Regions from separate parts of the Homo sapiens genome. Here region 2 is linked to region 1. Evidence: promoter capture Hi-C in human tissues and cell types (Jung and others, 2019). All regions are on one chromosome and are shown on one strand. Each heading gives the region's core, a stretch centred on a gene start or on the middle of the fragment in contact. The rest is flanking DNA. Distances are from core to core; before and after follow the strand shown. Region 1 holds the start of AP3S2 (adaptor related protein complex 3 subunit sigma 2). Region 2 overlaps GDPGP1 (GDP-D-glucose phosphorylase 1).

Evidence for each region. The method cuts DNA at HindIII sites, captures the fragments that hold promoters and counts their contacts. A contact is called where the count stands out against the background at its distance.
Region 2: a contact is called between a fragment that was not itself captured here and the fragment with the promoter of AP3S2 in region 1, in 7 of the 25 tissues and cell types used here (IMR-90 fibroblasts, aorta, dorsolateral prefrontal cortex and 4 more).

What each region holds. Positions count from the first base shown.
Region 1 is chr15:89,891,574-89,897,642 of GRCh38, reverse strand. It overlaps AP3S2 (adaptor related protein complex 3 subunit sigma 2), which reads left to right and starts at 3,649. Exons shown (of 6, transcript NM_005829.5): 1 at 3,649-3,762. The coding sequence starts at 3,694. All of the region lies in intron 5 of ARPIN-AP3S2 (ARPIN-AP3S2 readthrough), which reads left to right. ARPIN (actin related protein 2/3 complex inhibitor) reads left to right here. Exons shown (of 6, transcript NM_182616.4): 6 at 1-2,637. It also overlaps the pseudogene RNU7-111P. RefSeq lists enhancers at 2,367-3,114, 3,469-3,618, 4,611-5,360. The HindIII fragment of the contact is 43,728 bases long and covers 1-6,069 here.
Region 2 is chr15:90,239,752-90,245,820 of GRCh38, reverse strand. GDPGP1 (GDP-D-glucose phosphorylase 1) reads right to left here. Exons shown (of 4, transcript NM_001013657.3): 4 at 10-4,921. The coding sequence starts at 4,912. The coding sequence ends at 3,755. It also overlaps a transcript of CIB1 not described here. Among named protein-coding and RNA genes, the nearest start is that of TTLL13, 6.8 kb to the left of the region's middle. The HindIII fragment of the contact is 7,306 bases long and covers 1,167-6,069 here.

The DNA of each region.
Region 1 (6,069 bases), core at 2,400-4,899:
TGCATAGGGGTTTTCTGGTACAAACTGGAAAACCTGCTAGACAAATTCTGAAACATCTGTAATGCTTGTAGGTAGTTGTTGTAACACTATGCCCACACATAATCACTTTCCATATTGCTGCATAGTCTTTGTAACCATTTTTCTTCTTCTTTTTTTTGAGATGGAGTTTTGCTCTTGTTGCCCAGGCTGGAGTGCAATGGCGCGATCTTGGCCCACTGCAACCTCTGCCTCCCGGGTTCAAGCTATTCTGCTGCCTTAGCCTCCCGAGTAGCTGGGATTACAGGCACACGCCACCACGCCCGGCTAGTTTTTGTATTTTTAGTAGAGACGGGGTTTCACCATGTCAGCCAGGCTTTTCTTGAACTTCTGATCTCAAGTGATCCTCACTCCTCAGCCTCCCAAATTGCTGGGATTACAGGCGTGAGCCACCACGCCCACCTGTAACCATTATTTTTAAGATTGCTACCATTGGATAGTTCTGTCATGGTCCAACTTTTGGATATTTAAAATTGATCCCTGTGTGGCTAACAGAATTAATGTTTCCAAAAATGTTGAAAATTATATAGTTCTCTTAATTCCCCACCTCTAACTATATTTTTGGGTTATTTCTTTAGGAACAGATGCCCAGGAGTCATATTACTGAGAATCTAGAAATCTTTTGCAAAGTTCTTGTTATATTGCCAAATTGCTTCCCAAAAGGGTTGTTCTAAACCATAATTTCACCAGCAATGTAGGGGAGAACCATTTTTATGCTGCCCTTGTGAGAATTGGGTATGAAAACATTTTTAAAATGATTTTTGATGAGGTGAAAATAATATTTGAATATATTTTAATTTGCCTTTCCCCCACTTATAGTGAGCTTAAACATTTTTTCCTTTTCCTAGCTGTATTTCTCCCTTTGTTATTCGTTCTTTCGTCCATTTATCTACTGGGGAGATGGGGAGTGTTATCTTTTTAGTTTATCAGTTATTTGCATTTTAAATATAACCATTTGCCATATTTTAACAACGATTTTTCCATTAAATAATTCTTTTTATAAAAAAACTTTATATATCTGTTGATGTTTTGTGATTTTTATTGCTTCTAAGCTAATACAGATTTTTGGATCTTATTCAATTTCGCTTTCTTCTGTTTAGGTTATTATCTGGTTTTATACCTAACTACTTATTTTCAAATTGCTAACCAGTTATCCTAATAGTATTTACTGAATTCCTTCCCACTCCTACATCACATATTAAAATTATTTTATGCCTAAATTATTTATAATATTTCAGTTATTCTTCCTATAATTACAATTTGAACCATCAAAGTAGGTTTTCATAGTTGGCAGAGCTAGTTCTTCTTCATAATTCTGTTTCAGAATTTTCTTTGATATTCTTCCTCAACATTTTAAACATTTTGTCAAGTTTCAGTGCAACTGACTTTTGGTTTTTATTTATTTAAAAACTGGGCCATGCCGGGCGCAGTGGCTCACGCCTGTAATCCCAGCACTTCGGGAGACTGAGATGGGTGAATCACTTGAGGTCAGGAGTTTGAGACCAGACTGGCCAATGTGGTGAAACCCCATCTCTACTAAAAATACAAAAATTTGCTGGGCATGGTGGCATGTGCCTGTAATCCCAGCTACTGGGGAGGCTGAAGCAGGAGAATTGTTTGAACCCGGGAGACGGAGGTTGCAGTGAGCCAAGATTGTGCCACTGCACTCCAGCCTGGGCAACAGAGTGAGACTCCATCTCAAACAAACAAACAAACAAACAAACAAAAAACTGGACTAGGCGTGGTGGCGGTTTGGGAGACTGAGGCTGGAGGATTGCCTGAGGCCAGCAGTTTGAGGTTACAGTGAGGTATGACTGTGCCACTGCACTCCAACCTGGGTAAGACCCTATCTCTGAAAAACAAACAAGCAAACCCCAGAACTCTGGCTGCAAAAGTAGTACATATTTCTTTGAAGGAAAAAAAGGAAAACTTGATAATCCTACCACCCAAAGATGTTTTTAAATCACTTATGTGGTACTCAGTTATGTGCCATGCACTGTCCAAGTGCTTACAAATATTATACTAACTCCCTTTGTGTTTATAACAACTGTCTGAAGTCAGTAGACTCATTTTCCAGTTTTCCAGTTTAGGAAACTGATATTACACCTTTTCTACAGATGGGGAAACTTGCCCAGGGTGCCCAGGCAGTCCGCAGAACCATGCTTTGAATCAGGGCAGTGTGGTTCCAGGGTCCTGTACAGATCAAACACCCTGACTCTGCCATTCCATCAGATACATGATTCATATTTTGGTGTATTTGCCTCCAATCTTGAGCAAAGTGGGTTGTCCCTGTACATACTTTGTGTAATCTTTTAGCTTAACAGGTGTCATGAACACTTCCGTATCATAAATCTTTCCCAGCATGATTTTTATTATCTATTTAATATTTCTCATATTCAATGTAGAACAATGCACTTAACCAATTTCTCATTTTTGTAATAATTTTCTTCCCATTTTCCCCTGTAATAACACTGCTGAGATATATATTTTTTTCTTCTTTTTTTTACTGTTCTGAAGATACTCTGGCAGAAATGTATGTTCCTCAGGCTAAATCTTTTCACACATCCACAATCATTTTATCATAAATTCTAGAGCTGGAAACGCTGAGTCTAATGTTTTATATATATATATATATATGTTATATATCTGTCACCCAGGCTGGAGTGCAGTGTGGTGTGATCTCAGCTCACTGCAACCTCCGCCTCCCGGGTTCAAGCCATTCTCCTGCCTCAGTCTCCCAAGTATCTGGGACTACAGGCGCGCGCCACCACAACCGGCTAATTTTTGTAATTTTAGTAGAGGCGGGGTTTCACCTTGTTGGCCAGGCTGGTCTCGAACTGCTGACCTCAAGTGAGCCGCCCGCCTCGGCCTCCCAAAGTGCTGGGATTACAGGCGTGAGCCACCGCGCCCGGACTGTTATATATTTTAAAGGCTTCTGATCCATATCGCCAAACAGTCCTCTGGATCGATTTGCATCTGTATCCGCTGCTCCATCTGCAGTATACGGACATGCTCCACTTCACCCACACTGGGTCATTAAAAGAACAAACAAAAATAAGAACTTGATCGATTTGGGATTTTAAATGGAAATGCACTAAAAATTCCTTAATTCCACCATTCACCGTCTACCATAGAGGAACAGCCCATCTGCACGGAGAGACAGCTACGTAATTCACTGCAGCATTATAATACTGAAAAATTAAAATGAACGAAATGTTCCATAACCGACGAACGGCCGAATGACCGGCGTCTCCACTCCGCGGAACGTTCTGCGAGCGCTAAGGGGATGGCGGGAGTGCATGATTTGGAGCGGGCGGTGAGAAAAGCAAGCTCCCGCCGCCTCTCCGTTTTGGCAACCCGGCTGACGGTCGTTTCGGCTTCTGGGGCCAGCCGTCGGTCTGGGCGAGGGACATAGATCCGGATTCGCATCCTGACTGGCCAACCAACGCTGGCCGAGGTGACCACTCTCCTCGGCATCCGCACCTGCCCTCCAAGGCGTCAGAGAGGCCGGACCCTTGGGTGCTAGGGCTCGTGAGCGCCGGGGCCAAGTTTCCGAGTGCCGCTCTCAGCAGCGCACCAACCGGAAGTGATCGTGTTGTGGCGGAAGGAGGAGCTTTCTGGGAGTAGCCGGTGCTGAGAGAACCGTGGCTGGCAAAGATGATTCAGGCGATTCTGGTTTTCAACAACCATGGGAAGCCACGGCTAGTCCGCTTCTACCAGCGTTTCGTGAGTGCGGCCCGGCTTCACCACGCCCCTTCAGGGCGCCCACTATGTCTTCCCTCCTCTTTGGCCTCTCGGCGCCCGGGGGCACCGCTCTTTGGTCACCTGGGGCTCCTGCACCGAGCATGACCCTCGCCCTACTTAAGCATTTAATCTAGGCGCAGGCTGGTGCCAGGCCTTCTGTCTCCCGCCCTACTGCCCCGCTCTCGCTGACCCTTTTCTTGATCCTGGCATTTCTGTGCCATTTTGTGACATTTTCCCGTGGGTCTCTGGGAACGAGATAGAAGCGACAGTGGGGAGTGTGCCTCGATGAGAACTTGAGTGATTGAAGTCACATTCTGTCATCTTTTTGGTTGTTGACCACAGTTTCATGAGGAAGAAATATTAAGTTTCTGAAAGTTTTTGTTATAGCCAGAACTGGAAAAGTTCTTTTTTTTTTGGAATTATTTTGCTTCAGTGTTGGCTGGGACTTTCCAGAGACTAGATACCCTTCACTCTTAGGGTTGAAGAAAATCAGTTTAAAAGTGGAAAAATGATGAGAAATTATAAATGCTGCCGCATAAGGGCTCAATAAGTGATTACGTAAATTTGAATTTTCCCAACACGTTCCTTTGCAAACACATAAACATCAGTATTTGCTTCCTGTCTTCGAAGATTATATTTCTTCATGGCAGGGTTTCAAAATGTTACATAATTGGGGGACTGGTGGAACTGAAGAGGGGAAAGAGCCAGAAAACGTGTTCAGGCTTCAGCTCCACCTTTTCTACTCTTGCGTCTGTTGACAAGTTAATAAACCCTTTTCAGACTTTTATTGTCTTTTGTCAATTAGAAATGAAAAAATAATTTTACTCCTTCATAAGATTTTTAAAGCTAGATTACATTTTATTAAGTAGATTACATCGAGGTAAAAATATGAGTATTCAGGCCGGGCGCGGTGGCTCACGCCTGTAATCCCAGCACTTTGGGAGGCCGAGGCGGGCGGATCACGAGGTCAGGAGATGGAGACCATCCTGGCTAACACGGTGAAACCCCGTCTCTACTAAAAATACAAAAAATTAGCCAAGCGCGGTGGCGGGCACCTCCAAGTCCCAGCTACTCAGGAGGCTGAGGCAGGAGAATGGCGTGAGCCCGGGAGGCGGAGCTTGCAGTGAGCCAAGATAGCGCCACTGCACTCCAGCCTGGGCGAAAGAGCGAGACTCCATCACACACACACACAAAAAAGTATATATATATATGTATGTATATGAGTATTCAGCGTAACTATTTGTATTTGCATTTGTGTGTATGCAAATTTCCCCCCTAGTTTTTTTCTAACAGGGTTACTGAGATAAAACTAACATGCCATACTGTTTACTTATTTATTTTATGTTATTTACTTATAGAGACGGGGTCTTTCTATGTTGCCCAGGCTGGTCTTGAACTCCTGGGCTCAAGCAATCCACCGGACTCAGCCTCCCAAAGTGCTGGGATTACAGGCATGAGCCACTGTGTCCGGCCCCAGTTTACTTATTTAAAGGGGACAATTCAGTGTTTTTTAGCATGTTCACAGAAGCTGTGTAACCATCACCACAATCAATTTTAGATCATTTTCATCACCCCAAAAAGAAACCTCTGCCCATTAGCAGTCACTCCCTATTTCTCCATGACTCTCCCAGCCCCAGAGAGTTTCTTTCCCTCTAAATTTGCCAGTTCCAGAATGGCAAATGGAATTTGCCTATTCCGTTGCCTATAAATGGAATCATAAATAAGTGGTTTTTTGTGTGTCTGCCATGTTTCATGTAGTATAATGTTTTCAAGATTCATCCATGTTGTAGCATGTATCTGATGTTCTTCATTTCTTTTATTGCTGAATAATATTCCATTATATGGATATGCCATATTTTGATTGTCAATTTATAAGTTGATATTTCTGCTTTTTGGCTCTTCTAATTAATGCTGCTATGAACATTCTTGTGCAAGTTTTTATGTGGACTTATGACTTCATTTCTCTTGGTTATATACCTAGGAGTAGAATTGCTGGATCATATGGTAACTGTGGTGAACATTTTGAGAAACTGCAAACTATTTGACAAATTTTCCAAGTGGCTGCACCATTTTACATTTCCATCAGCAATGTATAATGATTCCAGTTTCTTCACATCCCTGCCATTCGTTATTTATTTATTTATTTTTGGTTAAAGACATTTTAGTGGGTGTAAAGTGGTATCTCACTGTGGCTTTTTTTTTTCCCTCCGAGACTGAATCTCACTCTATCTCCCAGGCTGCAGTGGCGTGATCTCGGTTCACTGTAACCTCTGCCTCCCGGGTTCAAGT
Region 2 (6,069 bases), core at 3,570-6,069, 350 kb before region 1:
GCTGAGAAATACCACCAGAAAGAAAACCCATTTTACTTTCCCCTTTTTATATGGAGAAACATATTTGAGTCAGGGAAGGCTTTCCTCTAAACATCAGTCCTACGGAGAAACTGGGAAAATCCTGATATTTGGCTTATCACTTTGAACGCAAAATCCACTTTGCTGTAATGGTCATCCGAACTCCCTTCAGAGAGCAAGCAAGCAAAATTAAGTGTGATACTGGAGCTTATGCATGCAAAAGCTTGCAAAAAGTATTAAGGAAAAATTACTGCAGTTTACCAAAAATATGAGGGTGGTCAACATTTTCTGATAGAATGGTAAACTGTTTTTTTCTTTTTTTTTTTTTTTGAGACAAAGTCTCTCTCTGCCGCCCAGGCTGGAGTGCAGTGGCGCGATCTCGGCTCACTGCCACCTCCGCCTCCCAGGTCCAAGCGATTCTCCTGCCTCAGCCTCCTGAGTAGCTGGGACTATAGATGTGCACCCACACCCAGCTAATTTTTGTGTTTTTAGTAGAGACGGGGTTTCACCATGTTGGCCAGGCTGGTCTTGAACTCCTGACCTTGTGATCTGCCTGCTTCAGCCTCCCAAAGTGCTGGGATTACAGGCGTGAGCCACCGCACCTGGCCTAAACTGTTTTTCTTATAAAATGGGCTATGGACACATATTCTGCTTTATCACAGGGAGACTTTGTAACATCATTTGGGATGTAAAACCTCTAATGAAAACTGGAAACTAAGGCTTTATACAGGCCTAGGTATAGGGAGCCAACGACCTGAAGGCCTAAGCCAGGGCTAGGACCCACAGTTTGGGAGGCAGAGAAATCAAAACCCCTCCTGGGTGAGCCCACTCAGACAGCAGCCAGAACCCACCTGTGTGAGCCCCCTTTCACCCTTACGCTGTGAACAGGGACTCTCATTCCTTCAGGATGTTTGATGAAGGAGTGGTGGCGGTGATAATCTCTGTTGAGAGCTGGACCCAAGACTTTATGTATTTATTTATTTTGAGACTGAGTCTCGCACTATCGCCCAGGCTGGAGTACAGTCGTGCAATCTCAGCTCACTGCAACCTCCGCCTCCTGGGTTCAAGTGATTCTCCTGCCTCAGCCTCCCAAGTAGATGGGATTACAGGTGGCCGCCACAACGCCTAATTTTTGTATTTTTAGTAGAGATGGGGTTTCACCATGTTGGCCAGGCTGGTCTCGAACTCCTGACAAGTGATTTGCCTGCCTCGGCTTCCCAAAGTGCTAGGATTAAAGGTGTGAGCCAACGTGCCCAGCCAACCCAAGACTTCTTTTACTTTTGCTGTATAACATTCAAGGGAGCTAAAAGGAAAATGAGATTTCACACCCACATACTCTCTTAGAATAGTGTCTACTGACTAGTTCCTCTGGAACCAGTGTGAAATGTCTGGAGAAACAGGACAGAACAAAGCAATGAGATAAAAAAAAATTTCCCACATTGACTCAGATGCAGACGGAGGAACAACGACTTAGCTTTGGATTTTGTGTCTACATCAAGAGGAGCTTCTAAAGTGCTTGGGAAAGACCCCAAGAGGGATGGCTGAGGCTCAGGGAGGGCAAACTGTTAAGGACAGTGCTACCCACCATGGGAACCACTGACTGGAGAGGCGGTCACAAGCACACATTGTCCCAGCTCATCTTCTGGTACCTGCCTGTGCTGCAGTCCCGACTCCAGCTGCCTGACCTTGAACAAAGTACAAACTGTCAGTCTCCATCCCGTTTTGAATGGGGGTATTAAGAAGACTCAGGCTGAATTGCTTGAACCCAGGAGGCAGAGACGCAGTGAGCCGAGATCACACCACTGCACTCCAGCCTGGGCAACAGAGTGAAACTCTGATTCAAGAAAAAAAAAAAAAAACTCAGGCCAGGTGCAGTGGCTCATGCCTATAATCTCAGCACTTTGGGAGGCTGAGGTGGGAGGATCTTGAGGCCAGGAGTTCGAGACCAGCCTGGGCAACTTGGCAAGATGCTATCTCTCCAAAAAAATAGCCGGGTGTGGTGGCGCATGCCTGTGGTCCCAGCTACTAGGGAGGCTGAGATGGGAGTATTGTTTGAGCCCAGGAGGTTGAAGCTTGCAGTTAGCTGTCTTCATACCACTGCACTCCAGCCTGGGTGACAGTGACCCTGTGTCAAAAAAAAAAAAAAAAAAAAAAAAAAAAAACCTGCACCAAGGTGTGGTGGCATCTTAGCACTCTGGGAGGCCGAGGTGGGAGGATTTCTTAAGGCCAGGAGTTTGACAGCAACCCGGGCAACATAGCAAGACCCTATCTCTACAAAAAATTTAAAAATTAGCCAGGTGTGATGGTGCACACCTATCGTCCCAGCTACTCAGGGGGCTGAGGTGGGAGGGTGGCTTGAGACCAAGAGTTTGGGTCTGCAGTGAGCTGTGATTGCACCACTGCACCCCAGCCTTACAAAAAAACAAAACAAAAAAAGACGTGCACCCGGAAAGTTGTGACAACACTGTGTTTTTACATCAGATGATGTCAGTGAAGAGCATTCAACTTGGTGTTGGGGGCTAGAGGAAAGCTCAAGGTGGCAGGGAAAGTGAAGGAGTGGGGCATTTGGGTGGAGCAGGGCTAAATGGAAAGAAGGGACAAAGCAATAAAAATAAGTGGTGAGCAAAGGGGAATAAACAGGCTGAGAACAGAAGTGGCAGCTCAATACTGGAGGCACAGGCACTATTACCGTGCTAACATTTGATATCAAAGGAAGACAAAATCTAAATGTAAAGTCAGGAGTGTGTAACTGTCACACACACTCCTTTTTAACACCCCTGGGGCTTGAACAAGAACGGGGAGAGGTAGCAGATACATTCATGATGTCTTACTCAGTAGAATTATTCCAGATTTTCTCCCCTTTAAAGAGACCACTATCAGCTCCCCTTTAAAGAGACCATTATCTTTCTCCCCTTTAAGAGATCATTATCAGCTTTCTTCATCCTTCTTCTTAGGCTGAGACAGGTGAGAAGGCAGCCATGAAAATAAATGTCCAAAGGACTATGATGGACAGTGCTCTGGAAAGGGACTCATCAGGTAGAAAATGAATACATCCTGGCTGGGTGTGGTGGCTCACGCCTGTAATCCCAGCACTTTGGGAGGCCGAGGCGGGCGGATCACCTAAAGTCAGGAGTTCAAGACCAGCCTAGCCAATGTGGTGAAACCCCTTCTCTTTTAAAAATACAAAAAAATTAGCCGGGTTTGGTGGCAGGAGCCTGTATAGTCCCAGCTACTCGGGAGGCTGAGCCAGGAGGATCACTCGAACCCTAGAGGTGGAGGTTGCAGTGAGCCGAGATTGTACCAGTGCACCCCAACCTAGGTGACAGAGCGAGACTATCTCAAAAAAAAAAAAAAAAAAAAAAAAAAAAAAAGAAACAGAAAAGAATCCAGGGGCTCACTCCTGTCATCTCAGTACTTTGGGAGGCCGAGGTGGGAGGACTGCTTCAGCCCAAGAGTTCAAGACCAGCCTGGGCAACATGGTGAAACGCTGTCTATATAAAAAAATACAAAATCACCTAATCGTTAAAAAAAAAAAAAAAAAAAAAAAAAGCCAGGTGTGTGGTGGTGCACGCCTATAGTCTCAGCTACTCAAGAGGCTGAGGTGGGAGGATCACTTCAGCCCCAGAGGTGGAGGCTACAGTGAGCCAGGATCATACCACTACACTCTAGCCTGGGGACAGAGTGAGACCCTATCTCAAAAGAAAAGAAAAAAAGAACATAAATACATCCAGAAGTATTATTGCTCTTCCTGGGACATCAGGGCCACCAGTGCTGCCTGTACGTCTTCTGCCTGGGATGGGGGCAGCCGACAGTCCTGAATGAGGGCCACAGCAGCTGCCTCTGTCAGGCTGCTGAAGTCCTGGGATGTTTTGACAGGGAGGTGCCCAGCCAGCTCACAGAGGGCAACATTGAAAGCTTCACCGTCCTTTATCCCAAAGCTGGACTTCCGGGCCCACAGAATTACTCGGACCCCTGTGAGGGCTGAGGAAGGTGATGTCTTTCCCGGCGGAGCTCCCCGGGTGACAAACAAGTTATGAGCAATCTCATGGTCAGTCAGATAATCAGTGGCCCGACATACCCTGCTTATCAAGGACTCCAAGTCAGGCCCTGGCCCACGAGTGTAAAAGAGGAAGCCAGGAGCTGGGAGGTCCTGGAGCAGATGCAAATGGCCTCCAGGGTCCAGGGGCTCGCTTGGCGCCTGCTCCACGGGCAGTCTGTGGGCCAGGTAATAGCCATGCAGGTGGAGGTGGTTCACCGAGGCCAAGCCTCCCAGGCTGTTGAAGCCGACACGGAAGCCCGGGTGTAAGCTCAGCAGCACAGCCTCAATCCCTGCCCTCAGTGCACCCGGCAGCAGGCGCTGGGGGAGCTGGCGGGCAGGCTCAGGCACCAGCAGCACGTGGCCCCACTCCAGGGGGCTGACGTTGATCACCACCAGGATGTCTTCTTGCAGCAGAGTCCCAGGGAGATCAGGCTCCCGGTGCAAACGGAAGAGGACTTCTCCGGGCCGGATCTTGTTGAAGTTGAACTGTACAGGGTCAAATGCCTGCCTCACACTCTTGATGGTCTGCGGGGGCCTCCTCTGCACACCACGCTCCACATTCAGCTGAGCCACGAAACCCACAGCACCAGGGAGGATTTGGGTCTGTAGCTCCCGTAGACGGTAGCGAAACAGCCCCAGCTCCACCCGCTGCTTCCAGGCAGAGCAGAGTGCAGCATCAAAGGGAGATTGTGGCAGAGCATCTGGGATGCCAGGTGCATTCCTTGGCCACTGAATCCCTTCTGCCATGAGATCCTTCTGCCCATAAACAAAGTCAGGAATGGTTTGCCTGCCCCAGTCCTCATTGTTGGGAGGCAGCAAATAGGAAGTTTCGTTTGAATCATGTGGAAGAGCCATAGAGCTGACCTGAAATAGTCATAAAAGATGAAAACACATGATGGTAACCCACCTCCAGAGATTGTCATTGTATTTATTTATTTATTTTTTTTTTTGAGATGGAGTCTCACTCTGTCACCCAGGCTGGAGTGCAGTGGCAGTGATCTTGGTTCACTGTAACCTCCGCCTCCTGGGTTCAAGCGGTTCTCCCGCCTCAGCCTCCTGGGCAGCTGGGGTTACAGGCAGGCACCACCATGCCCGGGTAATTTTTGTATTTTTAGTAGAGATGGTGTTTCACCATGTTGGCCAGGCTGGTCTTGAACTCCTGACATCGGGTGATCCCTTTGCCTTGGCCTCCCAAAGTGCTGGGATTACAGGCATGAACCAACATGCACAGCTTATTTATTTATTTTTATTTTTTTGAGACAGAGTCTCACTCTGTTGCCCAGGCTAGAGGGCAGTGGCGCGATCTTGGCTCACTGCAACCTCCACCTCCTGGGTTCAAGTGATTCTCATGCCTCAGCCTCCCAAGCAGCTGGAATTACAGGCACCCGCCACCAGGCCCGGCTAATTTTTGTATTTTTAGTAGAGGCAGGGTTTCACCACATTGGCCAGGCCGGTCTTGAACTCCTGACCTCCGGTGACCCTCCCCTCTCGGCTTCCCAAAGTGCTGGGATTACAGGCCTGAGCCACTGCACCTGGCCTATTTATTTATTTATCACTCTGTCACCCAGGCTGGAGTGCAATGGCGCTATCTTGGCTCACTGCAACCTCTACCTCCCAGGTTCAAGCGATTCTCTGGCCTCAGCCTCCCAAGTAGCTGGGATTATAGGAATGTGCCACCACAGCCAGCTAATTTTGTATTTTTGGTAGAGACAGGGTTTCACCATGTTGGTCTGGCTGGTCTTGAACTCCTGACCTCAGGTGATCCACCCACCTCGGCTTCCCAAAGTGCTGGGATTACAGGTGTGAGCCACTGCGCCCAGCCACGGCCTATTTTATTTTGAAACAGGTTCTCACTCTGTCACCCAGGCAGGAGTGCAGTGGTGCATACATGTCTCCCTGAAGCCTTGACCTCCCAGGCTCAAGGGATTCTTTCACCTCAGCATCCCAAGTATCTGGAACTACAGGCATGTGCCACCAGGCACTGCCGAGATCGCACCATTGCAGTCCAGCCT